7 separate regions of the Homo sapiens genome follow, and all the other regions are linked to region 1. Evidence: promoter capture Hi-C in 16 types of primary human blood cells and fetal thymus (Javierre and others, 2016). All regions are on one chromosome and are shown on one strand. The core of a region is centred on a gene start or on the middle of the fragment in contact, and the rest is flanking DNA. Distances in the headings are between cores, read along the strand shown. Region 1 holds the start of AMBN (ameloblastin). Region 2 overlaps ADAMTS3 (ADAM metallopeptidase with thrombospondin type 1 motif 3). Region 3 overlaps ADAMTS3 (ADAM metallopeptidase with thrombospondin type 1 motif 3). Region 4 has its middle 250 kb from the start of NPFFR2. Region 5 has its middle 48 kb from the start of GC. Region 6 has its middle 69 kb from the start of GC. Region 7 holds the start of LOC107986285 (a long non-coding RNA gene).

Region 1 (3,872 bases), core at 918-3,417:
ATGCATGGCAGCTGCTCAACATATTTGCTAAATGCATATAGCAGCCAAATAAAGTTTTTGTGATAACAGAATTGCATGCTGTTGGCTGGAGTAGTTCAGTGTTCAAAAGATTGTGTTTGTATGAGATCATTTCAATATATACTAGAATGGATCAGGTGTGGGACTGTAATACACAATTAGCCCCATCACTATGATATGTTTTGATTTATGAAACTTCAGCTCTCAGTCACACAATTTCATGTTTACAAGGTAAATTTGCTAGTTAATTACTAGCTTTAAATGGAATTATCTAGCTGAGTTTTGTAACCATAGAAATTTAGAGATAGTTCTTTTTGAAATGAAGAAAATGTATTTTTTTCAAAGAAATTTCCTCTTTCCATTTCAACTTTATAATGATAGCAATAAGTTGATAATAAAATTTCGCCATGCATTGTGGAGACTATCTAAGCTTTTAACTTTGAATGAGTGGAATAAGATCTAGAAATTGTCTTGGGACTATTTTAAATAACTTTTTAGTAGAAATATCATACTTCACTTACTGCTTTTTTTTTTTTTTTTTAAATGGAGTCTCACTCCGTCACCCAGGCTGGAGTGTAGTGGCACAATCTTGGCTTACTGCAACCTCCGCCTCCCAGGTTCAAGCAATTCTCCTGCCTCAGCCTCCCAAGTAGCTGGGATTACAGGTGCCCACCACCACGCCTGGCTAATTTTTGTATTTTTAGTAGAGACAGGGTTTAGCCATGTTGGCTAGGCTGGTCTCAAGCTCCTCACCTCAGGTCATCCTCCTGCCTCAACCTCCCAAAGTGCTGGGATTACAGGCGTGAGCCACCGCACCCGGCTATCACTTACCGCTTTTGGATTGCAAGACTGACATCTGAGCAACTATGGCTTTTGACTCAATAGGACTAAACCACTGGATTAAATCAAGTGAGTCTATGCGTGGACTCTCAGTCCATATCCCTTCAGTGTTGTTTGGAGTTCGACAATCAATAACCTTTTCTGGGACACACTCTAAAGACTGACTTACCGGCACTGCAAAACTCATTTCCAGGAGGCATAGGATCAGTATCAGGTCCTTCATTTTGAAAAGTGGAATCTAAAACATAATTAAGTTGGAGAATTAAATCAGATGAATTTTTATTCAGAATGGTTAAAAGACAATTTTTGAAAATGAGCCTGAGTCTCTGCTCTTACAAAAACCACCGGGATAAAGGTTAGAAGAACAAAAACAAAAACTAAATGTTACTAAACAACCGATTTGTATGTAGTAGTTTCTGAAATAAATTAACAAGCAATTAAAAAATATCTAAGCACGTTTTAAATGGATCTACAGCCTAAATAAGTATGTAGGAACAACCTCCATCGATATTCTTTGTGATATATTTCATTTCATAAAGTGAATTATGAGTTTAAAAATCCTTCCCACTAAGTAAAATATTGGTCTATAAGGTATTATTCACAGAAGTTTATACTTTGCTTACCCTTTGGGACACATTTTGAAATGCATGTGAAATGTAATGCAACTAAGTCATTTTATAACAAACCTTTATTTGCAGGAATAGAGGGTACATCATTGCATGTTTAGGTAATCTACGTAACCATGACAAAATTTTTCTTTTCAAATGAGAGTAAATTGGCTATCTTAATTTTCTTTGATGTTAGTGGAAAATATGTCTCAAATTTAGCTTTCCTCTTCCTAAAATGAATTATCTTTTAAAATTTATTCTATAAATTCAAAAAGCTCTTTATTCTTACATGAATAGAGATCTGAATAGCCTAGAAATTTACTCATCTTCTAATATTAAAAAGAATTAGGCACTATAATCAAAAACATTAAAAAAAACACAATCTATAAATAAAAGTCTTTTTTTTTTTCTTAGTTGAATGGGTGTTAGGCATGTCATCTCTGGGACATGCTAATGGATTACAACAAGCAATAATTCAGCTACTGGTGACAAATGAAGATAAATCCTCTTTATAAAAGCTGTCAGGAGATAGGAAAAAAAGAATTTACAGGAAACACATGGAAATCATAAAATCCCATTTTACCTTAGATGCTGACATGCACTGTGCTCTCAGGGCCTGATGATGCCAACCAAGATAGTTCTAAGAAAAGAAGATTAAAATTTTTTTCAGGACTGTGCGTGGGACTTGCTCTGTACTTCTCATTCAGGGAAGATTAGAAACCTTTATTTAAAGTGCCAATCCACCAATCAAAGTGAAGCAAAATGGCGAGGGGTGGCGGGGGGGAGTTGGGGCGGGAATCTCTGCTCCTGCAATTAGTCCACACCCTTTTATTGCGTGCAGGGACATTGGCCCAGTAGGGTCTCATTATTTTTAATTGTACTGCAGCCCCTGTACTTATTCAGAGAACTTGATAGCAGGGAAGGCAGTAAAGGAATAATGGACATAGGCTCTGAAGACAATTATTTTGGTGAGCTGGGGAAAATATATGTAAAATAGGTGCAAAACAAAACCTGTTTTGTGCAGGTTTTATCTGCAGATAAAGCTAGTGACCCAATGCTAGCATTCTTCAGGTTTTCACCCTCCTGTTTGTTGTAGTAAAAGAGACTACTGTCCTTCCCCCCAGCACACACAGAGTTTAAAAGAAAACACTAAAATGTTAGATGGAAAATTAATGTGTGTGATTTCTTCCTTGAATTTCCTAGATATTTTCATATCTGGAGATAATTGATTAGAGATAGCCAAGCTTTTGTAAGAAACTACAGTTGGACCCTTTGCAAGAATCAGGTTTACTTCAGGTAAACGTTTGGTGCATTTTAAAAAAAATCTGTGGGGACGGGGACGTAAATCAGAACATTCTCTATGAACCAAATCAATGGGCACAAGTGTCAGTTCACTCTTCAGATAGACACATTCCCAGGCATTAGTATCAAGCCAGGTTAATAAGACATATTTCGATCACTTAAAAGGTTAACGTCAACACAGATTGGTTTTTCTCCGTGAACAGATAATATCTTGGATGTGGATTGAATATTAGCTGCTTTTGTTACTTCTCTGCCCATCCTTGTCTTTCCAAAGTTGTGATTTCAGATATGGTAGGGATAAGCATTTAAGATTAGTTCTGAAGAAGGGATGAGTCAGTACACTCTTTAGGGAAGTAGGGATCTTGTCAATTACAGGGAACATTGAGGAAGCTGGTATTTTGAGAGAAAGCTGTATCCATACCCAAATGTAGGCCTAACAGCTTCAAATAATGTTATCTTAGAAGCTGCTCCTGAAAACCTCTGTGTTCCACTGATACCAGAATTATCTTTAGGATGCAAAGAAATGAAGAATGTGAATGTGTTTTGCAAACAGCAAAATGTTATTGAAATGAAAAGTATTATTTTTCATGCTGTCTCTGGTGCTTGATGCAGTCCCTTAATCTCTTTTGAGCCCCAGTTCCTTCTTCTGTTATGTAAGGATAATAATTAATGACCACAAGCTAGTCTTTTTTTTTTTTGAGACGGAGTCTCGCTGTGTTGCCCAGGCTGGAGTGCAGTGGTGTGATCTCAGCTCACTACAACCTCCGCCTCCTGGGTTCAGGCGACTCTACTGCCTCAGCCTCCTGAGCAGCTACGATTACAGGCCTGCGCCACCATGCCCGGCTAACTTTTTTTGTATTTTTAGTAGAGACAGGGTTTCCCCATGTTGGCCAGGTTGGTCTGAAACTACCGACCTCAGGTGATCCTCCTGTGTTGGCATCCCAAAGTGCTGGGATTACAGGCGTGAGCCACCACGCCCAGCCTGAGCTTGTCTTAAAGATTGGTGAGATGGTGAAGATGCAGCAGCTGCCATTTATTGGGTGCTGAATGAATGAGTTGATTGTCCTTTTGGTAGGAGAAACTACATGAAATATGAGACCACAA
Region 2 (3,872 bases), core at 485-2,984, 1.7 Mb before region 1:
TTGGCCAGGCTAGTCTCAAACTCCTTGACCTTGTGATCTGCCCGCCTTGGCCTCCCAAAGTTCTGGGATTACAGGCGTGAGCCACTGTGCCCAGCTGATGCTTTTTAAATATATAAACTTGGGCACCGTATTTAATCTCTCTGGACTACTTTCTCATGTGTAATATGTGGATAATGATAGTATGTATCTGATAAGATTGGTGTGAGGATTAAATTTGATAATATAATTAAAGTGCTTAGCACAAGAAAGGCACGTATATATGTTAAATGGAATCCATTAAAGCCAGTCTTGCCTGTAACTATTCACATTAGATGTATATTTCATTAAATTTCCACATTGGTCTTTAGTAATTCATTAAAAAAAAAAAAAAAAGAAGGCCTTTTTCTATGTTGGAGCAAGCTTTGGGTGTTAGAGCAAGGAACGTAAGTGTTTCATGGGGCTAGAAAGAAATTGATCTGCTGTTTGAAACCTTCCATATACAACCATTTGGTCTGTCTATAAGGTATACACTGTGAGCTCCTAATTACTTGCATTAATGTTTTAAATCAGAGAATTCTAAAGCTTTGGCTTAATGTCATGGAAAAGTGGAATTTCCACATTCGATAATAAGGATTAGAACAAAAAACCCACATCTAAAAATGTGTACTAATAAAAAAATTTCTATGCACATAAGGGTGTATGTAGGTAATTAGCAGTATAGGCAATAGATATGTGGATTAGCTGTTGTTTGATATTTTTAAAAATATAATGATTGGTAAGATGTTTACATTTAGAGAGAAAAAGAGCAAACAAGCAAAGAGAACACACAAATACACATGTTTGCTTATACAAACATTTGGATATTATAATGTGGTGTGTTCAGAAAATAAAAACCATTCTGAAGAGTATGAAAACCAAGACTCTAGTCTTGTGCTGTTGCTGTCTTACTTATAACCATAACTATAGCCCTAACTTGTAACCCATATTTCTCAGCAATGGATTGGTATGAGAATCAAATATATGGAAAATATTTCATAAACTATATGAATGTATTATGATATTTTGTTGTACCTAGAATACTTTATCTTACACAGAAAGTTTGACAATTTTTTTCTGCTTTTAGTCAATTAATTATAAGTATTTATGATTATTATTATTATTATTATTATTTTGAGATAGTGTCTCACTGTTGTCACTCAGGCTGGAGGGTACAGTGGCTTGATCTCGGCTCACTGCAACCTCCACATCCTGGGTTCCAGCGATTCTCCTGCCTCAGCCTCCCAAGTAGCTGGAATTAGAGGCATGCACCAACATGCCTGGCCAATTTTTTTGTGTTTTTAGTAGAGACAGGGTTTCACTATGTTGACCAGGCTGGTCTTGAACTCCTGACCTCAGGTGATCCACCCATCTCAGCCTCCCAAAGTGCTGGGATTACAGGCATGAGCCACTGTGCCCAGCCCTTTTATTATTTATATTCAACTATCTATCTGATACCTACAGAGATAAAGAAAAGACATTTTGATAGCTTGAGAGCTGCCAAACCATTATATTTTCATATTTACAATATTCATGATAATTACTAAGTCTTTAGAAAATTTCAACATTGTCTATTTGAAAAACAAAACATAAAAACAGCAAGCAAAAACCTTAAAAGTCAACCAGATAATCTCAGACAAATCATTGTTTATCATTGTTATTTTAGAAAAGCAGAATAAAAGTATTTTCTACCTGAAATTCTTATGCAGTTTTTTTTCAACATGTCAAAACATTGGCTATTAACTTGAAATAAACACATCCAAGAAACAGGACAGAAGAAACTGTATAGAATATATTTTTGGTGCATGTCATGCTAGCTGAGAGTTCACTGACAATTTGATTATCTATCTTCCAGTTCCGAACCTTTGACCCATGTAAACAGCTGTGGTGTAGCCATCCTGATAATCCCTACTTTTGTAAGACTAAAAAGGGACCTCCACTTGATGGGACTGAATGTGCTGCTGGAAAAGTGAGTATATCTATTTACACAATAAATATGTAAGATATGTTGCATAATTATCATCTTTAAAGGTCTGGAAAATGGTAAACACAGCTGCACTGTCATTTTTATGAAAACCATAGTATGCAAGGCTTTATTAAAGTAATGTACTAAAATAGTGTACTAGTTCCCTGTGGCTAAGGTAACAAATTTTCACAAACTTGTTGGCTTGAAACAATGGATATTTATTCCCTCACAGTTCTAGAGGCCAGAAGTCAAAAATCAATTTCAATGAACTGAAATCAGTGTGTGGGCAGGGCCATTCTCCCTCCAAAGGCTGTAGTGGAGAATCTTTTCTTTGCTTCTCCCAGCATCTGGTGGCCACCCCACATTTCTTGATTTGTGGCTGCACCACTCCAGTTTCTGCTTCTGTGGCCACATTGCGTTTTCCTCATCTTTATGGGTCAAATCTCCTTCTACCCCTCTCTTATAAGGATACATGTAACAGCATTTAGGACCCCATGGATAATCTGGGATAATCTCTCCATTTTAAAATATTTAAGTTAATCACATTTGCAAAGACCCTTTTTCCAAATAAGGTAACATTTACAGGTTCCGGGGATTAAGACTTGATATCTTTGGGACTACCATTCAGCCCACTGTTGGCAGAATAGGAAGAAGCAACTCAGCAGACTATCTGCCCCCTGGTAGTGGGATCTGATTGACTTGCTGGCATGCCATTCCTTGTGAAAGTTGCCCAGAAATAAAGTCATGTGAACTTATACAGAAGATTTGGCCTTGTTCCTTAGGGAAGGATGCCCAGAGGTTTTAAATCTCAAATTGTGTAGTCAGGATTGAATGCTCAGAAATTGGCTGAGTGCCAAGCTATGCTACTCATAAGGGCAAAGATCCCAAAACAAAGGCATGTTAAGAACTCAAGTTGAAAAGCTTTGACTAGTTTAGAAATAAGAAATTGTAGGCAGGACCAAAACCTGGTACAGAAGATTTATATGGCATTTACTTCTTTTAAAGCTCAATTTCAAATGTGTATAAACTGTACTTGTGACAGGGATTATATGCATAATAATAATAAAACCTGTCTTTTTAAGTGTTTGCATTATATTAGGCACTATGCAAAGCACCTTGTATACAATGTTTTGCTTTGGGAAAATTCAATATCATAAACTTCTGACTAAAAACAAGAGTATAACGAGTTAATTCATTTTTGCTTTATAAAAAATTATATAATTAACTTTTTAACATTCAACTTTCTTAAATATATTGGTGTTATATTGAAATTTATAGAAGTTGAGTTTTAACAAATGCTTTTATTGTACGTAGTGTGAAAAAGTAAGTCAAAATGTTAGAGAGGAAAATGGCTAATGTCTCTTGAGCACCATGCCAGGCACTGTAAGCTAGGTGCCTCTATAGTATTAGGGTTCTGGTAGCCCCACTTAATTACTTCTTGGTCAGATGGCCTTCAACTACTTATGAACCTTTCTGGGCCTCAATTTTCCTCATCTAATTGTTGATGATATATGTATGACCCATCTATCTCTCAGAATCATTGTTAATGAAACATTTTAAAAGTTAAATAAAAGTGCTTTGAAAGCTGCATATGTTTTAGACATGTTATATTATTATCTAAACCAAGACATAGTTTATTTTATCATTTTTAAAAAGATCATGTAGCCCTCAAAATATTCTGGTATGATATAGGTAGTGACAGATGAAGGGTAAAATCTTACCAACTGTGCAAGCTGGGTGCTCAAAGAGTTCTTATTGATTATAGTGTTTGATGCTTACTGGTGAATGTATCATTTAAAAACTTGTCTGAGTGAATGTTGTTTTTCCATTTTAATTTTCTACTTGAAAAATACAAGTCTAAATTACCCTTTAATAGGGTATATTAATGACA
Region 3 (3,872 bases), core at 584-3,083, 1.7 Mb before region 1:
AGATGCTTCAAGACTTGCCCACTGATTATAATCTGACCACAGCAAGTGGTGTGGGCTGGAGGTACAAGAGGGAGATTTGTAGCTAGGAGATGAGGGTGTAGACAAGCAATGTTCTATCATTATGACATTGCTTTTCCATTCTGAGTCCTGGAACATGGTGGCTAGGCTGTCTGGGGCAAAGAGAATTAGATATCTGGCTAGAGTGTAAGGGTTGTTCGAATGGTGCTTGATTTTTAATGCTGTTTTAAAAAAAAAGACAGAAAAAAGAGAATAAAAGCCAGATAACCAGATCCTCTACCCCCACTGATTTTAGTATCACCTCATTTCTCAAACAAAAGGTAGTTCTAAAAATTTAGTTTGGAATACCAATGAATTGCACATTTCTCTCTTTGCATAATCAGTAAAATCCTATGAAAGCTACATGAAAATCAATTTTTTTAAAGGCAGCTTTGCCCTGAACAAAATTAAAAGGCAAGAGACAAACTGAGAAAATATTTGCAACTCATATTACAAAAAGGAATTCATATCTTTAGTGCACAGATTAGGAGAGAAAAAATGTGTACAGTTCCAATAAAAACCAGGACAGTCATGCAATGTACAGTGTTTAAAATATGTGAGTAATAAACTTAGGAAAATTAAACTTTATTAGTTATCAAATAAATAACAACTAAAATCATGATATTTTTCCCATCCAATTAATAAAGGTGAAAATTATGTAACATGTAGTGTCAAATGGCCACTTTCATACACTCTCATTATTAAAGTAACAATTGTTCTAACTGTTCCGGAGGACCATTCACCAGTCTATCAGAAGAACTAGAATTATAAAAAGTGTTTGTTCCCTTCAGTCTACTAAGAAACGCCAGAAATCCCCACAAAGGTTGGGAAAATTTCTAATGAAAACAAATATTGAAGAGTTACCACACACTTATTAACAATAATACATAACAATTTTAGGATTACAGACTATGCTGACATTTAAAAGTATATTTTCTTTTTTTAACTTTTTTTTGTACAAGTGCAATTTAGCTACATTGATATCTTGCATTGTGGTAAAGTCAGGGCCTTCAGTGCATCCATCACTGGAGCAATGCACATTGTACCCACCAAGCAAGTTCCCATCATTCAGCCCTCCTTCCATTCCCTCTGACCCCTCTGAGTCTCCAATGACCATCATTCCACACTCCAAAAGCATGTTTTCAAAGAATATTTTGAGAAATGTGCATGTTACATGAAATAAACAAAGCCAGGAAAGTAAATATGTCTGTACACACACACACACACACACACACACACACACACACACACACACACAGAATGCAAATATCTTGAGGGACTATCACAATAATAAAAGTGACTGGTTTTCTCTAGTTAGGTAGAATTATGATTTTTCGTTTTCTTTCTATTTTTCCATAATGTATATATTTTCTGGAGGGAACATTACTATCTTTATCATCACAACACAACAATTTCCGTTGAAGACAATTTTAAAATGCACCAAAATTTTTAAATTTAAAAATTCAAAAAATTTAAAAATTTAAAAATTTTAATTTAAAAATTTTAATCCTTTAATTTTAATTATAATTCTTTACACTTAAAAGTTAAAATCCTTTAAAAAGGAGATGATATAATTTAAGGAAACCTACAGTGAACCTTATAAAGTTATTATTTTTATAATACAAACTCTTACTCCTCAGTGTATGTATTTTTTAACACTTTTATGTTAAAAGTTTTATAGATACTTCATCTTTTTCTTAAACAGGGCACATTTGCACTATGGTTTATAGAAATAAAAACATTATAATTTTTGAAACTATTTGAAAGTTTTCAGTTTTAATAAGAGCAATATTCTGAAATATTTGTAATTTTACACTCAAAATTTAAAACCCTCAGGTGATTTACATATTGATTTCATGTGTATGTTAGATTATACCTCAAGAAAATGATACCCGCTCTAGCCTGACATATAAGTACATCATCCATGAAGACTCTGTACCTACAATCAACAGCAACAATGTCATCCAGGAAGAATTAGATACTTTTGAGTGGGCTTTGAAGAGCTGGTCTCAGTGTTCCAAACCCTGTGGTGGAGGTAACCATTGAACACATTTATTATATTAAAATGTAATGCATATAAAAACCAATCTTGCTTCTACCTTTATTGCTGTCTCTAATCGAGGCCACAATCTGAGAAACACCAAACATAACCATCAAAACATCAATACAAAACATTTTTACTGAAATCTCAGAATCACCAAATCATAGGATTCCTTTCATAACAGTGACAGACCTTAAAATCCTCTTGCCCTTTTCTCTCAGGTCCTTTGTCTTGCATTTACTGTAGTGGTACCCTTAATCACTTTATTCTTCCCAAACTCCAAAACTCTCCCAAATTCAGTGTACTCTGGTCCTCATCTTTCTTCTTACCTACTTTTGCTTTCTGTATCTCTCTGCATTTCTACCAGAGTTAATAACAAAAGAGCTATTGGTTACATGACTGTGTAACTGACTATGCTATGTATTTGAAACCAGATACTGTTCTAAATGCTTTATATATCAATGCATGAATACTCACAATGGCCCTACGCAGTTGGTACTGTTGTTATCTCTGTTAAAGTGGTAGCAAAACTGAAGCACACAGAAGATAATTGCCCAGAGCCCATAGGATTCAAACCCAGATAACCTGGCTTCTGAACACATGCTCTCACTCACTGCACTGTGCTGCCTCCGTTCCCTCTCCAGAGTCCATTAAGCTGGATTTAATGTCTCTCAATTTCTCCCATCATCCATTCCTCTAGTTCTAAACAAGTGCTCCATTACCAATTTCCCACCATGGGCAGGAGAAGGCAAGAGGCTGTTACAAAAATGACAGCAAATAATTGAGAACAAAATTTGTATTAGGCAGTGCTTGTGTAAATTATTTATTTTATAATTTTAAGTTCAAGGCTGTATTTCTAAAGTGTTTTCTTGAGGGAAGAATACAATAGTTAAGTATTTTAAATGACATCTCTTTATCCATTACAAGATGCTTATTTAATTTGGACCCTCCCTTCTGCTGTACTCTCAACATTTACTTGGTCATAATATTTGTCAGATATACCTTCTTCATATCTACCACATCTATTCCTTCTTCACCAGACTCCAGTCACCACTTTGGGAGGGACGATTATTGCAATAGCCTTTTAACTAGTCAACTAATATTGATGTTCTTCTCTTCCTTAATTTACAGGGTAATTTTTCTTGAATGCATGCATGAATGAATGGTAAAATTATATTATTTCCCAGATTAAAATCCTTCAGTCTTCTAACATGTTGCCCTGAAGACACAACATCACTTTATGTAGCATTCTTTCTAAAAATGAATCCCTTGAATCTCATCATTAGAACACAGTTAAACAGGCCCAAATTTCGGAACATTTTATAAAACAAATAGTTTTTAAATTTCAAAACTAGTAAATGCCGTAAGACAAAAAGAGGTTCAGTAATTATTTCTGATTGATGGAGGCTGGAGACATAACAGTTAAACGCAACATATGATCCTTGACTGGAAAAGGATTGCCATAAATAACATGATAGGGACAACTGAACATTTTTGAATAGGTCTGTATGTTAGATAATAGCACTATGTCTATGTTAAATGTCCTGATTTTAAGAATTATATTATAGTTATATAAGAGAATGTACTTCTGAAATCTGTGCTGAAGTATTTAGGAGTGAAGGATCAGGATGTCCTCAACTTTCAAATGGTTCAGCAAAATTATATGTATATTTACACACATACACATATATAAAGAAATATAGCAAATGTGACATAGTCACAAAAGATCAATCTAGATGCAAGGTATACAAATATTGTTTTTTCTTACAACTTT
Region 4 (3,872 bases), core at 799-3,298, 1.7 Mb before region 1:
TGCTGATCATCTGCTTTGTGGCAACAAACTAATGTTACTGCATTAAAACTGTTGCTTGGAAAGGCTATTTTTCAGCCAATTCATAGTTTCAAGAGAATTGTTGATTTGACCAATTAGCTTTCAACCACTGGATTGTTAACAATTCACCTGGGACTGAGTAGTGTTGTTTTTGTTCATTTGTTTAATCTACCCAAAACTCCAAATTAGTCTCTCACAGAAGAGAACGATTATTCATAGCCAAGTGTTATGCACATATCACCAATCTTACTATCCTGTATGGTTGAAACCTAAATAACAAAGCTCTTCCACAATCTGCTATTGAATAAACAAATGGTGCTAAAATCACAAATCTACACAAAGAACAACTCTTTCAGATGAGATATTTGGAGACTTACAAGAAGATACTCGCTCCCACTAGTAGTTAAAGGTAAAAACAAACTTCTCATGGTGGAAGATACAGAGCCAGTAGGTCTGCTTGCTATTCCTGAAACAAAATGACAAGATTTCTAAATTTCTGAAGAAGTTATGATACTCTGGTTATTGTGAGCACTAAAATCAGACTGCTGGTTTACCTCCTGGTTCTGAAGTCAGCTAATGGTGACTTGGAGGAGTTACTTAATGTGACTAAGCCCACTTGTTTTATATGTAAAATGAAAATGATAACAGTACATACTTCATAAAGCTGTTTGAGCAAAAAAAATTGAGAATCCTGGAAAAACAATAAACACAGTACCTCATGGGATAGACATTAAGTGTTTGGTAAAAGATTGCAATTGTTATTTTCTCCAGAATATCTATTTTTTAAAAATGTATCTTTTGATGGATGATCAACAAACTTCAAAGGATTCCATTTGAATATTTTAAACCAAGGAAATGACTTCCACAAAGTCCCTTCTGCCCAAAAGTATCCCATGTGCCCAAAAGAATGTGGAACACAAGAATAGAAGCAGAAAGTTATATGAACTATGTATATAATGCAACAGGTTTTTCATAATAGGCACAACCTGGCAAATGACTCCAAAGATTAAGGCAACTGCTTTTTCTATGGTGGCATCATGTACTACAAGATATTGTCCTCAGACTTGCTGCCACCAAGTTAATCCTCTTCTCTTGATGACAGCCTTTCTCTGGGACCTGGAGAAGGGGCTCTTGGTCTTATATGCCAAGGGAAGAAGGGCTCATATATACCCTTTAATTGTAATTGAACTATATACATTTTGTCCCTGGACAAACAAAAGAAAATCTATTTTGTATTCATTAGTACCTAGAACTGTGCCCTGCCCATGGCACAAACTTTGTAACTATAACATCTACTACATTCTATAAAAACTCTGCTGCCAAAAACAGATTTCTTGGAGCTATGACTGTGGTATCCCTTCTGTTTTTAGACTTTTTATGTCTCTGTTAACTTGTTTGACAGGAACAGGAACTAGCTAGTGTTGAAACGGAAAGGATCTTTAGATATTATCTAGCCTAGCACTCTTCCTTTTCCAGGAATAGGATTAGGACCCAAAGGTAATGTCTCCAAAATCTCATTTGTGAATTTGGATGTAACTGGGATTAGAAGAGAGATTAGTATTCCAACTTTCAGTTCATTTTTTCTCCCATAGCCAGGACGCGTCTATTCCATAAAAATAAGGGACTCCAATGAAAGGGAAGTCAATTATCCCAAGATCAGCAAGTGTCTGTGTGATCATCCTAAAGAAGAGAGTTGAAGTGTGCATTTTGACAGCTAATATGTGAAGGTCTAAGAGTGAAGTACTTTGCACTTCCAAATGAACCTACTGCAACTACCATATTACCCAGAAATGTGTCCAGCTATATGCTAGGGACATCTTCATTTGTATATATTGGCAACAGGAATGAGTTACATTTCTATAGCCTTTTCAGAAGACCTGTCCAAAATAATGGAATGTATTAAATAATATTCTGGTTTTGTGTAGAGTGGGGCATTGCAACGCTTATTTTTACATCTCAGATGTTGCATGGTGTGTGGAGATAGCAACATATCGTCTAGTGGAATGCTTTAGTTAATTTCCACAACATTCCTAACATGGAGATTCAGTTGTTAGAAGCAGCAGCCACTCTGATTCCATCTGCTTTTGCTCTGGGTTTTCATGACCATTAGAAATGTTCTTGAATGATGTGAGTGATCTGGATAGTCTCTTCAGCCATATAGCCAGGTCTATGATTTTCTTCCCTTCGTATTTGTTCTTCTGACTTGAATCTTTAGTGTTTTCTTATACAGATTTACTAAATTTTCAAGCAGGCCCAGGTCTGCATTATCATACAAGAAAGAATCAAACTTTTGCTTGACTCTGTTTCTGCTTCTTGACCCACTTTCTGATCTCCTTTCTTCACCACCAAACTTCTCAAGGGGCTGGCTTACATTCTCTGCCTCTCCTCTTTCCTACCCTTACCAGCATTCACTCTGGGGCCCACTGCAGCCTGTATTCTACCCCAAGAACACAACAGAAGAAGCACTCTCAAAAGTCATTCCTAATTACTCCTTCTCACTTGGAGAATTCATGGATTCAACAAACTTTTATTATGCTCTGATTGTGTGCCAGACAGCATTCTAGGTGCTTAAAATATAGTAGTGAGAAAATAACGAAAATTCCTGCTGTCCTATAGAGGGTACATTGTAGTGGAGGAAACACAGCAAACAATAACCACCATGCATGGTTTTGATATCAAGTATGTTAAAAAGTGATTAAGAAGAGCATAGTGCAGTACTGAGTGGGAGAGTAGTGGTAGAACTCATTTAGAGGGTGAAAAACTTGAAGAAAGTAAGAAAATTATCTCTACAATCTCTGGGGAAGAACATTCCAGGAAAAAGCAGCATCCAGTGCAAAGGCCCTAAAGTGCAATATGTCTGGTAAGTGCAAGGAACAGCAACAAGGACAGTGAAGTGGATATGATGCTTGATGGGGTCACTAGGAGAAGATAAAAGGAAATAAGAGATGAGAAATCACACACAATCTCGTGGGTCGGTATAAAAACTCTGGCCTTCATTTTTCCCAGATTCTCTCCAGCATTACATGGCCTTGGTGAGAAGAACTCAGGATTTGGTCTCATGCAACTTGGGTTTAAATCCTGCCTTCCACTCACGAACCGTAGGACTTGTTTCTTTAGTATGTAGTTCCCTCATCTACAAAGTTGAATGAAAGTATTATCTGACAGACTTCTAGTGTGAATCAAATGAGCTCATGTGCCTAAAAATGTATTTTTAAGGATACTATTACAATTGATTTTATTGTAAATTTTTATATTATAGACTTTGCTATTGTACAGTCTGGTATTACATAATTTATATGTCAGATGGGAATTTGTAGGATATCCAGGGCAACACTCTCTGACCCCTCATTCTCAGTCCCATTGGCTGGCTCCTCCATCTTTCATGACCTCTTATAAAGTTAATTCCAAATCTCCATGAGTAAGCCTTCACATCTGTACCAAACCACAAACACATTCCCACATGTCTGCTGAACATCTTACCTCTGCCGTCACAACTGTACTTCAGCATTTCTAAAAACCAAGTGATTACTACCCTTCCAAGAAACCTAGTTCTTAGTCCTATGTTCTGTGTTCCTCATTAAAATCAGCCTTGCCAAAAACCAGCCATGCTTTTTCACTATCATTCTTTTCTTTGTCTTTTACTCTGCATATATAAACAGCTCCCTTGTTCTGTTTATTTCACTTCTAAAATGTCTCGTGCCTCTGTTGCCTCTTTTTTGTCCCTGTTGTCTCTGCCTAGTTCACAATAGGCTTTGTCTGGAACTATCATAATTGCCTTGTGATTGTCTCCCTCTCTTTGGGGACTTCTCCAATGTTATACTCACCCTGCCCTCAGATTTTCTTTTGTGTGTGTC
Region 5 (3,872 bases), core at 842-3,341, 1.1 Mb before region 1:
CCCACGAAACCATTTTCTCCTAGGCTTCTGGGCCTGTGATGGGAGGGGCTGCCATGAAGACCTCTGACATGCCCTGGAGACATTTTCCCCATTGTCTTCGAGAGATTAACATTTGGCTCCTCATTATTTATGCAAATTTTATGCAGCCAGCTTCAATATCTCCTCAGAAAATGGGCTTTTCTTTCTATCACATTGTCAGGCCGCAAATTTCCTGAACTTTTATGCTTTCTTCCCTTATGAAACTGAATGCCTTTAGCAGCACCCAAGTCACCTCTTGAATGCTTTGCTGCTTAGAAATTTCTTCCACCAGATACCCTAAATCATCTCTCTCAAGTTCAAAGTTCCACAAATCTCTAGGGCAGAGGCAAAATGCCACCAGTCTCTTGCTGAAACGTAACAAGTCATCTTTGCTCCAGTTCCCAACAAGTTCCTCATCTCCATTTGAGACCACTTCAGCCTGGACCCTATTGTCCATATGGCTGACAGGCTTCTGGTCAAAGCCATTCAACAAGTTTCTAGGAAGTTTCAAACTTTCCAACATTTTTCTGTCTTCTTCTGAGCCCTCCAAACTGTTTCAACCCCTGCCTGTTATCCAGTTCCAAACTTGTTTCCACATATTTGGGTATCTTTTCAGTGGTTCTCCACCCTACTGGTACCAATTTACTGTATTAGTCTGTTTTCATGCTGCTGATCAATACATACCCAAGACTGGGCAACTTCACAGTTCCGTGTGGTAGGGGAAGCCTCACATTAATGACAGAAGGAAAGCAGGAGCAAGTCACATCTTACATGGATGGCGGCAGGCAAAGAGAGCTTGTGTGGGAAAACTCTCCCTTATAATAACCTTCAGATATCATGAGACTTACTCACTATCATGAGAACAGCATGGGAAAGACCTGGCCTCATGATTCAGTTACCTCCCACTGGGTCCCTCCCACAACACACGGGAAGTCAAGATGAGATTTGGGTGGGGACACAGACAAACCATATCAAATTTGTTTCTAAGAATGATGTTTACAAGTTCTATCAGTTAGGATTCTCCAAGGAAACAGCAGGAGATAAAGAGATTTATTTTAAGAAATTGCTTATGCAGTTGTGAAGCTGGCAAGTCTGAAATAGTCTAGAAACACAGGCAGGATTTCTTTTTTTTTTTTTTTTAAACGGAGTCTTGCTCTGTCACCCAGGTTGGAGTGCAGTGGCACAATCTCAGCTCACTACAACCTCTGCCTCCTGGGTTCAAGCTATTCTTCTGCCTCAGCCTCCCGAGTAGCTGGGACTACAGGTGTGCACCACCACACCCAGCTAATTTTTTTGTATTTTTAATAGAGATGGAGTGTCACCATATTGGTCAAGCTGGTCTCAAACTCCTGACCTCATGATCTGCCTGCCGTGGCCTCCCAAAGTGCTGGGATTACAGGCATGAGCCACCACACCCAGCCCACCAGCAGGATTTCTACGTTACAGTGTTGAGGTTGAATTCTTCTTTTCTGGAAAAACCTGATTTTGCTCTTAAGGCTTTCAACTGGATGACATTCACTCAGATTATCACATTATCAATGGTTAGCTCCTTTACTTAAGGTCAACTTATGGTAAATGTTAATCACATGTGCAAAATCTCTTTCCAGCAATGTCCAGACTAATGTTTCACCAAACAAATGATTAGCATAGCCTAGACAAATTGGCACATACAATTTAACTATCTCACAAACTTTCTCTTGTCATCTATAAGGTCTAAAGTCTTTCAAGTTGCAGTATTGACTTCCTGTGTTTCTCTGGATTCCGAGATCATCCCACAAGTCGTTCTTATATATCACCTGGGAACCATCACCTTAAATGGTCTTCACGGGATTAGAGTATTAATATCTCACCTGGAAGTTCTAAAGAAACAAAGCTTCTTTTTATGATGATTTTAATTTAAAAACATAACAAGTGAAAGGCCTTTCTAATGTGTCATTTAATTCAATAGCAATAGGCCCTAATGAAGCAAGAATTTGATCAGCTTGAGAGTTTACCCAATTTCCATTTGGAGATAAATAGCTCAAATAGGAAGGCTTAGAAGGTTGTTTTTACATCTCTGGTCTCCCTGGTGTGCACTTCTCCCCAACACAGAGGTCTCATCCTTCCCCAACCTATAAATGTGATTCCCAACCCTAGCTGCATCTTAGAATTATATGGAGAGTTCTGGAAAAAATACCAGTGCCCAGGCACCCCCTCAGAGATTCAGATTTAAGCTATCTTGAGTGAAACATGCCCTGCAACCAAACCTGCCAATCACTGCTTTAGAAGCTTGGTGCCTTCACCCAAATTAGAAAGGGAAAAGCACTTTAGATTAACCAATTAAAGAGGTTGGCCACATAACTAATGAAACTGTAGCAAGTGTAAATTTCCAACATTGTATTATCTCAGTCTGCACTGCATTTTGAGTATTTTTGTCCTTAATTATAAAATAAACTCTTATTCCCACTAAACAGATCTCAGTCATTGATAATCAGGTCAAAAGATTCTCTTTCCCAGAGGCTATTTTATCCTTGTCCATTTTTTCCAGGACCTGAAATATTCTTTTCTCTCTATTAGGCCAAGAAAACATCTAATTGTTTCTTCCATGACAACCACCACCACAAGGCTACTAGTTTCATAGCTAAAGCATTCTGGAAAATTCTAGTTTGCAATTAACAATAGTAGTACCTTATTGCCCATCCATGGATAAGGCACTTGGGATTCATACAATGCTTCTACTCAAGTAAAAAAGTTTCTAACAATGGATTGACTGTCTATGTCTATTCTTTTCAATATCAAAAGTATATGAGTAGATTGCAAAAATTTTCTCCCATTCTGTAGGTTGCCTGTTCACTCTGATGGTAGTTTCTTTTGCTGTGCAGAAGCTCTTTAGTTTAATTAGATCCCATTTGTCAACTTTGGCTTTTGTTGCCATTGCTTTTGCTGTTTCAGACATGAAGTCCTTGCGCATGCCTATGTCCTAAATGGTATTGCCTAGGTTTTCTTCTAGGGTTTTTATGGTTTTAGGTCTCACATATAAGTCTTTAATCCATCTTGAATTAATTTTTGTATAAGGTGTAAGGAAGGGATCCAGTTTCAGCTTTCTACATATGGCTAGTCAGTTTTCCCAGCACCATTTATTAAATAGGGAATCCTTTCCCTATTTCTTGTTTTTCTCAGGTTTGTCAAAGATCAGATGGTTGTAGATATGCGGCATTATTTCTGAGGGCTCTGTTCTGTTCCATGGGTCTATATCTCTGTTTTGGTACCAGTACCATGCTGTTTTGGTTACTGTAGCCTTGTAGTATAGTTTGAAGGCCGGTAGCGTGATGCCTCCAGCTTTGTTCTTTTGGCTTAGGATTGACTTGGTGATGCGGGCTCTTTTTTGGTTCCATATGAACTTTCAAGTAGTTTTTTCCAATTCTGTGAAGAAAGTCATTGGTAGCTTGATGGGTATGGCATTGAATCTATAAATTACCTTGGGCAGTATGGCCATTTTCACGATATTGATTCTTCCTACCCATGAGCATGGAATGTTCTTCCATTTGTTTGTATCCTCTTTTATTTCATTGAGCAGTGGTTTGTAGTTCTCCTTGAAGAGGTCCTTCACATCCCTTGTAAGTTGGATTCCTAGGTATTTTATTCTCTTCGAAGCAATTGTGAATGGGACTTCACTCATGATTTGGCTCTCTGTTTGTCTGTTATTGGTGTATAAGAATGCTTGTGATTTTTGTACATTGATTTTGTATCCTGAGACTTTGCTGAAGTTGCTTATCAGCTTAAGGAGATTTTGGGCTGAGACGATGGGGTTTTCTAGATATACAATCATGTCATCTGCAAACAGGGACAATTTGACTTCCTCTTTTCCTAACTGA
Region 6 (3,872 bases), core at 900-3,399, 1.1 Mb before region 1:
TACAGCAAAATAAGTTGTCATCAGAGTGAACAGGCAACATACAGAACGGGAGAAAAATTTTGCAATCTACCCACCTGACAAAGGGCTAGTATCCAGAATCTACAGGGACGTTAAACAAATTTACAAGAAAAAAACAAATGACCCCATCAAAAAGTGGGCAAAGGATATGAACAGACACTTCTCAAAAGAAGATATTTATTTGGCCAACAAACATATGAAAAAAAAAAAACACAATGAGATACTACCTCACAGCAGTCAGAATGGCAATCATTAAAAAGTCAAGAAACAATAGATGCTGGAGAGGATGTGGAGAAATAGGAACAACTTTACACACTGTTGGTGGGAATGTAAATTAGTTTGACCATTGGGAAGACAGTGTGGCAATTCCTCAAGCATCCAGAACCAGAAATACCATTTGACCCAATAATCCCATTACTGGGTATATACCCAAGGGAATATAAATTATTCTACTATAAGGACATATTCACACGTATGTTTATTGAAGCACTATTTGTGATAGCAAAGACATGGAACTACCCAAATGCCCATCAATTATAGACTGGGTAAAGAAAATGTGGTACATATACACCATGGAATACTATTCAGCCATAAAAAATAATGAGTTCATGTCTTTGCAGAGACATGGATGAAGTTGGAAGCCATCATCCTCAGCACACTAACACAGGAATGGAAAACCAAACACTGAATGTTCTCACTCATAAAAGGGAGTTGAACAGTGAGAACACATGTACACAGGGAGGGGAACAACACACACCGGGGCCTGTCGGAGGGTTGGGGGCAAGGGGTGGGAGGGCATTAGGACAAATACCTAATGCACGTGAGGCTTAAAACCTAGATGACCGGTTGATAGGTGCAGCAAATCATCATGGCACATGTATACCCATGCAACAAACCTGCACATTCTGCACATGTATCCTGGGACTTAAAATAAATTTTTTTAAAAAGAAAATGTGGTACATATACACACAGGGTACTCATGTGGTATTCAGCCATAAAAAAGGATGATATCTTGTCATTTGCAACAACATGGATAGAACTGGAGATCCTTTTGTTAAATGAAGTAAGCCAGACACAAAAAGACAAACACTGCATGTTTTCACTTATTTGTGGGGTCTAAAAAATCAAAACACTCGAACTTACGGATATAGAAAATAGAAGAATGGTTTACCAGAGGCTGGGAATGGTAGTGAGGGGTTGGCGGGGGGCTGGGAATGGTTAATGGGTACAAAAAGTAGAAAGAGTGAATAAGACCTGCTATTTGATAGCACAGCAGGGAGACTATAATAGTCAATAATAGTCAATACTAACTTAATTGTACATTTCAAAATAACTAAGTGTGTAATTAGATTGTTTGTAACACAAAGGAGAAATGCTTGAAGGGATGGATACTCCATTCTTCATGATGTGATGATTTCACATTGCATGACTGTAACAAAACATTTCATATATACCATAAACATATACAACTACTATGTATGCAAAAATTTTTTTAAAATTAAAAGAAAAAAAACTAACTGCAACCCATTCTTAGTTATTCTAATAGCTTAAAATTGTTTACTATGTGCCAAACATTGTTCTAAACACTTTAACTGCAGTATGTCATATTCACACACACCAAAAAAAACTGTAAGATAGCTATAATAATTACACCAGTTTTATATTAGGAAACTAACACATACAGAGATTAAGTGATTGGCTACAAGTTAAATGATGGTGGTGGATCTCAACTAGATCCTGCCCTATCTCTGCCTATTAGGCATAGTGGTTAAAGAAAAGCAGCTTATCTAAATGATGGCCAAAGTTGTAATGGAGGAAATTGTTCTTGCTTCGGTCAGAAAGACATTTTTCTACCTATGTATCCAAACAAGCAGCCAGATTCCTTTTGTGTATTTTTGTTTGGGTTTAAAAGTTTTAATGCTTGCCTGCCTTCCTTCCTTCCTTCCTTCCTTCCTTCTTTCTATCTTTCTTTCTTTCTCTCATTGTCATTTTAAAATTACTGAATGTATATTGAAATTTTTCACTGTGTTTACAATCCTGCAAAATTGAAGATGATGACAAATGAGTACAGTGAAGATGGCAAGATGCTTGATGGTGGCTTCCACCTATGAGAGTGTCTTGGAGGAGCATACCTAGAGCATGTAAAAAAGGGGTGAAAAACCAAGAAATTCTCTAAAATCTCCATATGGGACATTTTAGAAATCATCCAAGAAAAAAAAGGACTGCTTTTTCCTGAGAGGAGCCCATGTTTGTCTCTGCCCTAGTTCCCCTGCTGTCTTTCAAAAGAACACAGTCAAACAGTTCTTACTTCCCAAGATAGATTGTTTTAAGAAAGAATCTAACAAATGTGACAAAGAAGGACCCACCATTTTAAGTAATGGTCCATTTCATGTATAGATACAACAAACCAGTTCTTAAGAATATTTAAAAGTGTATTATGGTAGATCTTATGTGCTATTTCATATGCAAAATAAATTTATCAAAAATAGAAATAAAAATGTTTTTGAAATCAGCTTCTTTAAAATTTGTTATAAAACTCCTTTACCACTATGACAATAATGGCATGAAGCATACTTTATACAATATATACTCGATTATTTACAGTCTATTCATCTGTTTTATTAACTATTTTTTAAAAAAATACTGAACAGCATTCTACTGCCATCCAGCCTACTTCCAGTATATCACAAGTTATTACGTGCCCAAGAAATGGAAATTTATTCTAGTATTAGCCTAAGATAAATAGACTAAGAATTACTTTTATCTTATAGGCCTTTTTGGAGGTTATGAGGCATCTTTCAGTGAATAAGAATGAGCAATATTAGCAGACGTATTTCCTAATGTTGACTCAATAAGGGGATAGCTATACTCTTTTCTGGTTTCCTCAACACCCCTGGCAGCCTCAGGTCTTGGAGTGCTCCTAAAGTTGCTAGGTTCTTGTTTTCATCCCTGTTAGTATCTAAGGATACAGCATCAAGAAACATCCTATATCTTTTATGCTTAGATGCTAACAGGAATGTAAACAAGAACCTAGCAACTTTAGGAGCACTCTGAGTGTAGGTATATAAGTATAGGTATAATTATAAGTACAGGTATATAAACATAAATGTATATAAATATGGATATACAGATATATGTCCCTATTACATACAAACATTTTCCTTTCCACTAATATAACCAAGACTTGACTGCCAAAATAGAAAGTTGAATGATATATGTGTGCTGAAAGCCTCAAAATACTTCAGGCAAATACTTTGATTTTGGATTCCATTAACTGAAAGAACCTTTTCTTTCCTATTTATAGAGTACCAGAGGAAAAGAACACTGAACCAAAACCAAAGAGACTGGAGTTTTACTCCCAGTTTTGCCTCCATTATATTTATTGTGTGACCTTGGAGAAGCCTGTCAATTCTTCACACTCAAACGCTCCCATCTGCAAAATGTTGGCAATAGACTAGAGAATCTTCAAAATCCCTATTCACCCCATATTCTTTGTATTCTCCTTCTTTGTGTGTGTGTATGTTTATGCTGCTCAATATGCAATATCTGAAACTGCTTTTGAAAATGTAAATTACTCAATTGACCCACTAGGTGGTAGCAAATTTCTGGTTACTGTATAATGGCAGGCTTCCAACCACTTCCATAACCTTCTAAATTCTGCCATCAAGAAGTTAGTGAAAAGGACTTCTTTGCCTTGTTTGTCAAAAATCATGAGTTTTATTCTCAGCTCTGTCATTTACTACTTGCATGATCTTGGGAAAATGAGTATTGCAGGGTTTTTGATTTCCCACCATAAAATCAAAGGGAGTCTTGCAGATCTAAAACTTTTTGCATATTGTTACCATAATAAAAAA
Region 7 (3,872 bases), core at 653-3,152, 1.0 Mb before region 1:
ATACAATGGCTTGTGATCATGGATTAGGCTGTTTAATTGAGCCTATTTTTTTAATAGTCATATAATGCACAGTGTCTACTGTTTTTGTTTCAAAGGACTTTTATTTTACAGAGAGAAGCTTCCCTTTGTCAAATTTATATGTAATTTCACTTCTTGCACAACTATTAATAGTTATGAAATAGCTTATATTAACAGAGCAAACAGGTATTGAACATTTACTAACTTGCTAGGTATTGTGCTAAGCACTTTACTTTCATCATATTACTTAATCCATAGAACAGCCCTTTAAGACAGGAAAACTTATCCCCATTTAATATAGGAGGGCATTGAGAAATAAAGAAGATAAATAGCTTTATCAAGGTCACATAACAATTGGATAGCATTTCCAGGATTCAAAGCCTAGGGTGACACCAATATCCATACACCCAACTGCCTATATGTACTAGCTGCAATGTCAGGCACTAAGGTGCTCTCACATATGTTTCCCATTCAATTCCAATGCATAAAGTCTCTGTTATTCTTCTCCATTACAGAAGATATTACCAAGGCTCAAAAAATTTAAGAAATATGTCTAAATTTCCAAAGCAACAGATAATAACTGCCAGAGATGAAAGTCAAATGCAAGCCTGACTGACTCCTTGAGCAGGGCTTTTTCTACTACACTATGCACCTGTTAACAGAGTCAAATTATTCAAATGTGTTATAAGTTTAGTTATTTAAAAATTTCAAGGGACTAGCCTTAAATTATTAATATAATTGTGTTTGGCTATATTAAAATATGGCATTTGCTCAGATTGTTAATTCAATTACATTTGGGTGTAACAATAGAGAGTATGCACTACAGTTAATCACAGATGGCCAGCAATTTGTGGGAAGATGTCAGGGGAGACATCTATATGATAGAAGTTGTAATTTAACACCAGACAGTATAAATAGAAAGAGTTGAATAAACAAATCCAGGTGGCAGTGTGCCAACCAGTCAGAACTTAGGGAAAATAGATAAAACAAGGCAGGCAGGATCTAGAATCATTCATATACTTTAATCACAATAGTTAAGAACAGACCAAGCTGAGTTAAGGATCTGTCAAAGTCACACTAAACAATCTCAACCCATAGTCACCCCAGCCCTAGTACCAACTCCTTATTGTAACAGCCCCATAGTGAGAAAACCACATGCAAATGAAATAAACATTTATTAGAGACAGAGTCAGAAATATCTATTCCTTCCACTTTGAGGTAAGTGAGATCTAAGCCGGATTTAGGGGGTGGTTTGCCATGGAGAACAAGAATGATATCATAAAGATAAAGGATATGACAAGTATAAGAGTTACCTAAAACCTCTGCATCAAAGGGAGGGAAACAGACCTTCTGAGTCCTGCCAAGTTGTTGCTTCCCAAGCTGACTTCAATGGTGGAAAATATGAGTAATAAATCATGTAGATGTCCTTATTGTCTTGCCACACATAATCATTGATGCTTGGAAGGAAACCCTACAAGTCAGAAACAATGGGCTGGGATGAATACTTGGAAAGGTATACCATCTTCCTCTTAGCAGAATCAACATCACAAAGATGTCAATTCTCAACTTGCTTTGAAAAGCAAATACAGCACTCTCCTTTAAGTTTGGAGATACAAAGAGAGCCAACAACTTGGTCACTTTTAAGCACCTCTAGTTCTGGAAATTACAGAGGAAACTTAAAGAAAATTCTCTAGCAGAACAAAGGTAATTGATCAGTAGAGTCCCTGAACATAGGTTGGGAAGAAGCTTAACTAACAGTAAATCTCATTTCTCACTAGAAATTTTACAATCAAAGAGAGGGTATGGTAGTTTGGCTTCAGCTGGGGGAGGAGGTTGTTGTTGGGAAAGTGTTTGAGGAGGTGGGCAAAGAGGGAGCCTCTAATAATGGCAACAGGCTTAGAAATAGACCATGAAAATTTCAAGATCTACATTTAGATGTCATGTATACTAGCAGACTTGTGGGCTAAGAAACCTGGAACTTGTGCTTGCTTTTTGGAATAATAAGCAAAGCTGGGAAGCTTTCCCAGACTCCTAAGCTAGAAGAGAGATAAGGTAATAGCTCTTCCTGCATTTTTGCAGTCAAATTTATCTTCTCCCACTAGATTGCGAGCCCCTCACTAATAAAAGGTCTCCTAACACAGCAGGAGCTAAACAAATATTTATTGGTAGGAACTATTGAAATATACTAGTTTACTTGTCTTGCCCTAACTAATCTTAAAATTGCCCACTTCAGAAAAGAAATGACATGCCTCTATAGAGCTCTACGCAGACATTCCCTTCCGCTTTAGACCCAAACTAGTTTAAAATCTGATCATCTTAGTTTTTAAATATTTTTTTTTCTTGGGAAATTGTTGCCTGTTTGAGATACCCAGTTTGTTTCTGTCGCATTTTTCTTGCCTCTAACTCTGGATGGGTGGTCAGAGTCCTATAGTGTGGACACCATTCCACACAAGATATATGGGATCGGCATGGTCCAACGTGCCCTTGGACAGAAACATGAAGTCATTGAATTGTGACTTTGCCTTCTTCCTATGTCATCTATCTGTGGTCCTGATCAAGAAAACATTTTGTACATTTTCTTGTTATCATGACACTCATGTGAGTCTGTTGGGATCATACTTTAAATTCATTTATCTATTTCCTAATATCCCTGTTGAGGGTGCTGTGAGACTAGTCTACAGGTCAGCATGACTACCTCCATGAATGAGGGAGGGAGCAACGGACTCATATAAATAAGAAGAGAGAACATGAAAGTAGGTTACAGCACAGGTACCCATGCCTGAAGCTATGTTTTTTTGCCAGAATAGGATCTTGAGGGAGATAGGAGAGCCATCTAATTGAAAGATAACAGATAAAATGGAAACTGATAATAGGTTAATGACCTTATAGTGCATTCTGTGTGAGAAGGCAGCAGAGGTCACACTTCATCTGAGTCTCTGCTCATATGCTCCCCAACAAAGAAGCCTTCTCTGACCATGTTACTAAAACAATACACCTCCCCTTGCCAATCTCAGGTTCCTTACCCTGTTTTTTGTAGATATCTCACATGGATTATTGAATAAGGGCCAGACTCTGACTCCACGCTGTTTGGATTGAATCACAGCTTCATGATGATCACTCTGATGATCACTCTGATCTTATGACAAGCTATTCTAGGAAGCAGTAAGATTGGAATTTATAATAATTAATCTTAGCATCCAATCATAAATATGTGTAATTAGTCTGACTGTATAATTCTGAAACACAGCCCATTCTTAAAACCTCCTATGAGTAAGAAGAGACATGGGAAGAGTGAACTGGCTATATATACATTTAACAATTCACTTATTTAGCAAATATTTATCAAGTGTCTACCATGTGCAAGACATCCCTGGGCTCCTTGAAAGTTGTTCAAGAAGGGATGCAGACTTCTCTCAGCCACTCTTGTGGGAAGAAGTAGAAGGGGACTGTGAAGTTCTAACTTCTGAGTTAAGGTTTAAAGCCTCTATCTAATCACAGAACTTTCCTAACTCTAAAAATAGGAATAGTGCCTTGCTGATCATCTTGATTTTTTCTTTCTTAATAAGCTGTCTACTTCCTGAATGCACATGTGTGCGCACACACACACACACACACACACATCCACAATCTTTATTCCTGAATAACCTGGATTCTATAGTCAGAAGGAGAAAAACATTAGCAACCTACAATGTTAATAGTTCCAATTAGTAAAATTAATGGATTTGGATACTTCTCTAATTTTGCCTTAATTTGTTCTACATGTAAGTTATAAAGATGGAAAAAATGCACTCAACTAAGAGATCACAAGCAGATGTGAGACAGGGAGATAAGCAGGACTCTTCTTCTCCTGGGAT

Evidence for each region. The method cuts DNA at HindIII sites, captures the fragments that hold promoters and counts their contacts. A CHiCAGO score of 5 or more calls a contact.
Region 2: a contact is called between a fragment that was not itself captured here and the fragment with the promoter of AMBN in region 1, in 4 of 17 cell types (total B cells, non-activated CD4 T cells, M2 macrophages and 1 more). The highest score is 7.6, in total B cells.
Region 3: a contact is called between a fragment that was not itself captured here and the fragment with the promoter of AMBN in region 1, in 9 of 17 cell types (naive CD4 T cells, fetal thymus, naive B cells and 6 more). The highest score is 9.1, in naive CD4 T cells.
Region 4: a fragment that was not itself captured here is called in contact with the fragment with the promoter of AMBN in region 1 in 1 of 17 cell types (total CD4 T cells); the score reaches 6.6 in total CD4 T cells.
Region 5: a contact is called between a fragment that was not itself captured here and the fragment with the promoter of AMBN in region 1, in 4 of 17 cell types (total B cells, fetal thymus, M0 macrophages and 1 more). The highest score is 6.9, in total B cells.
Region 6: a fragment that was not itself captured here is called in contact with the fragment with the promoter of AMBN in region 1 in 2 of 17 cell types (M2 macrophages and fetal thymus); the score reaches 6.6 in M2 macrophages.
Region 7: a contact is called between a fragment that was not itself captured here and the fragment with the promoter of AMBN in region 1, in 1 of 17 cell types (fetal thymus). The highest score is 6.3, in fetal thymus.

Annotation. Positions count from the first base shown.
Region 1 is chr4:70,590,551-70,594,422 of GRCh38, reverse strand. AMBN (ameloblastin) reads right to left here and starts at 2,167. Exons shown (of 13, transcript NM_016519.6): 1 at 2,050-2,167; 2 at 1,028-1,096. The coding sequence starts at 2,064. The HindIII fragment of the contact is 2,262 bases long and covers 451-2,712 here.
Region 2 is chr4:72,313,970-72,317,841 of GRCh38, reverse strand. ADAMTS3 (ADAM metallopeptidase with thrombospondin type 1 motif 3) reads left to right here. Exons shown (of 22, transcript NM_014243.3): 11 at 1,871-1,984. Among named protein-coding and RNA genes, the nearest start is that of ADAMTS3, 250 kb to the left of the region's middle. The HindIII fragment of the contact is 2,341 bases long and covers 564-2,904 here.
Region 3 is chr4:72,296,497-72,300,368 of GRCh38, reverse strand. ADAMTS3 (ADAM metallopeptidase with thrombospondin type 1 motif 3) reads left to right here. Exons shown (of 22, transcript NM_014243.3): 18 at 1,927-2,092. Among named protein-coding and RNA genes, the nearest start is that of NPFFR2, 270 kb to the right of the region's middle. The HindIII fragment of the contact is 4,703 bases long and covers 1-3,872 here.
Region 4 is chr4:72,275,184-72,279,055 of GRCh38, reverse strand. No RefSeq gene overlaps it. Among named protein-coding and RNA genes, the nearest start is that of NPFFR2, 250 kb to the right of the region's middle. The HindIII fragment of the contact is 7,237 bases long and covers 1-3,872 here.
Region 5 is chr4:71,734,326-71,738,197 of GRCh38, reverse strand. No RefSeq gene overlaps it. Among named protein-coding and RNA genes, the nearest start is that of GC, 48 kb to the left of the region's middle. The HindIII fragment of the contact is 395 bases long and covers 1,894-2,288 here.
Region 6 is chr4:71,713,542-71,717,413 of GRCh38, reverse strand. No RefSeq gene overlaps it. Among named protein-coding and RNA genes, the nearest start is that of GC, 69 kb to the left of the region's middle. The HindIII fragment of the contact is 7,070 bases long and covers 1-3,872 here.
Region 7 is chr4:71,591,189-71,595,060 of GRCh38, reverse strand. LOC107986285 (a long non-coding RNA gene) reads right to left here and starts at 1,546. Exons shown (of 4, transcript XR_001741716.2): 1 at 1,366-1,546. RefSeq lists an enhancer at 1,297-2,006. The HindIII fragment of the contact is 272 bases long and covers 1,767-2,038 here.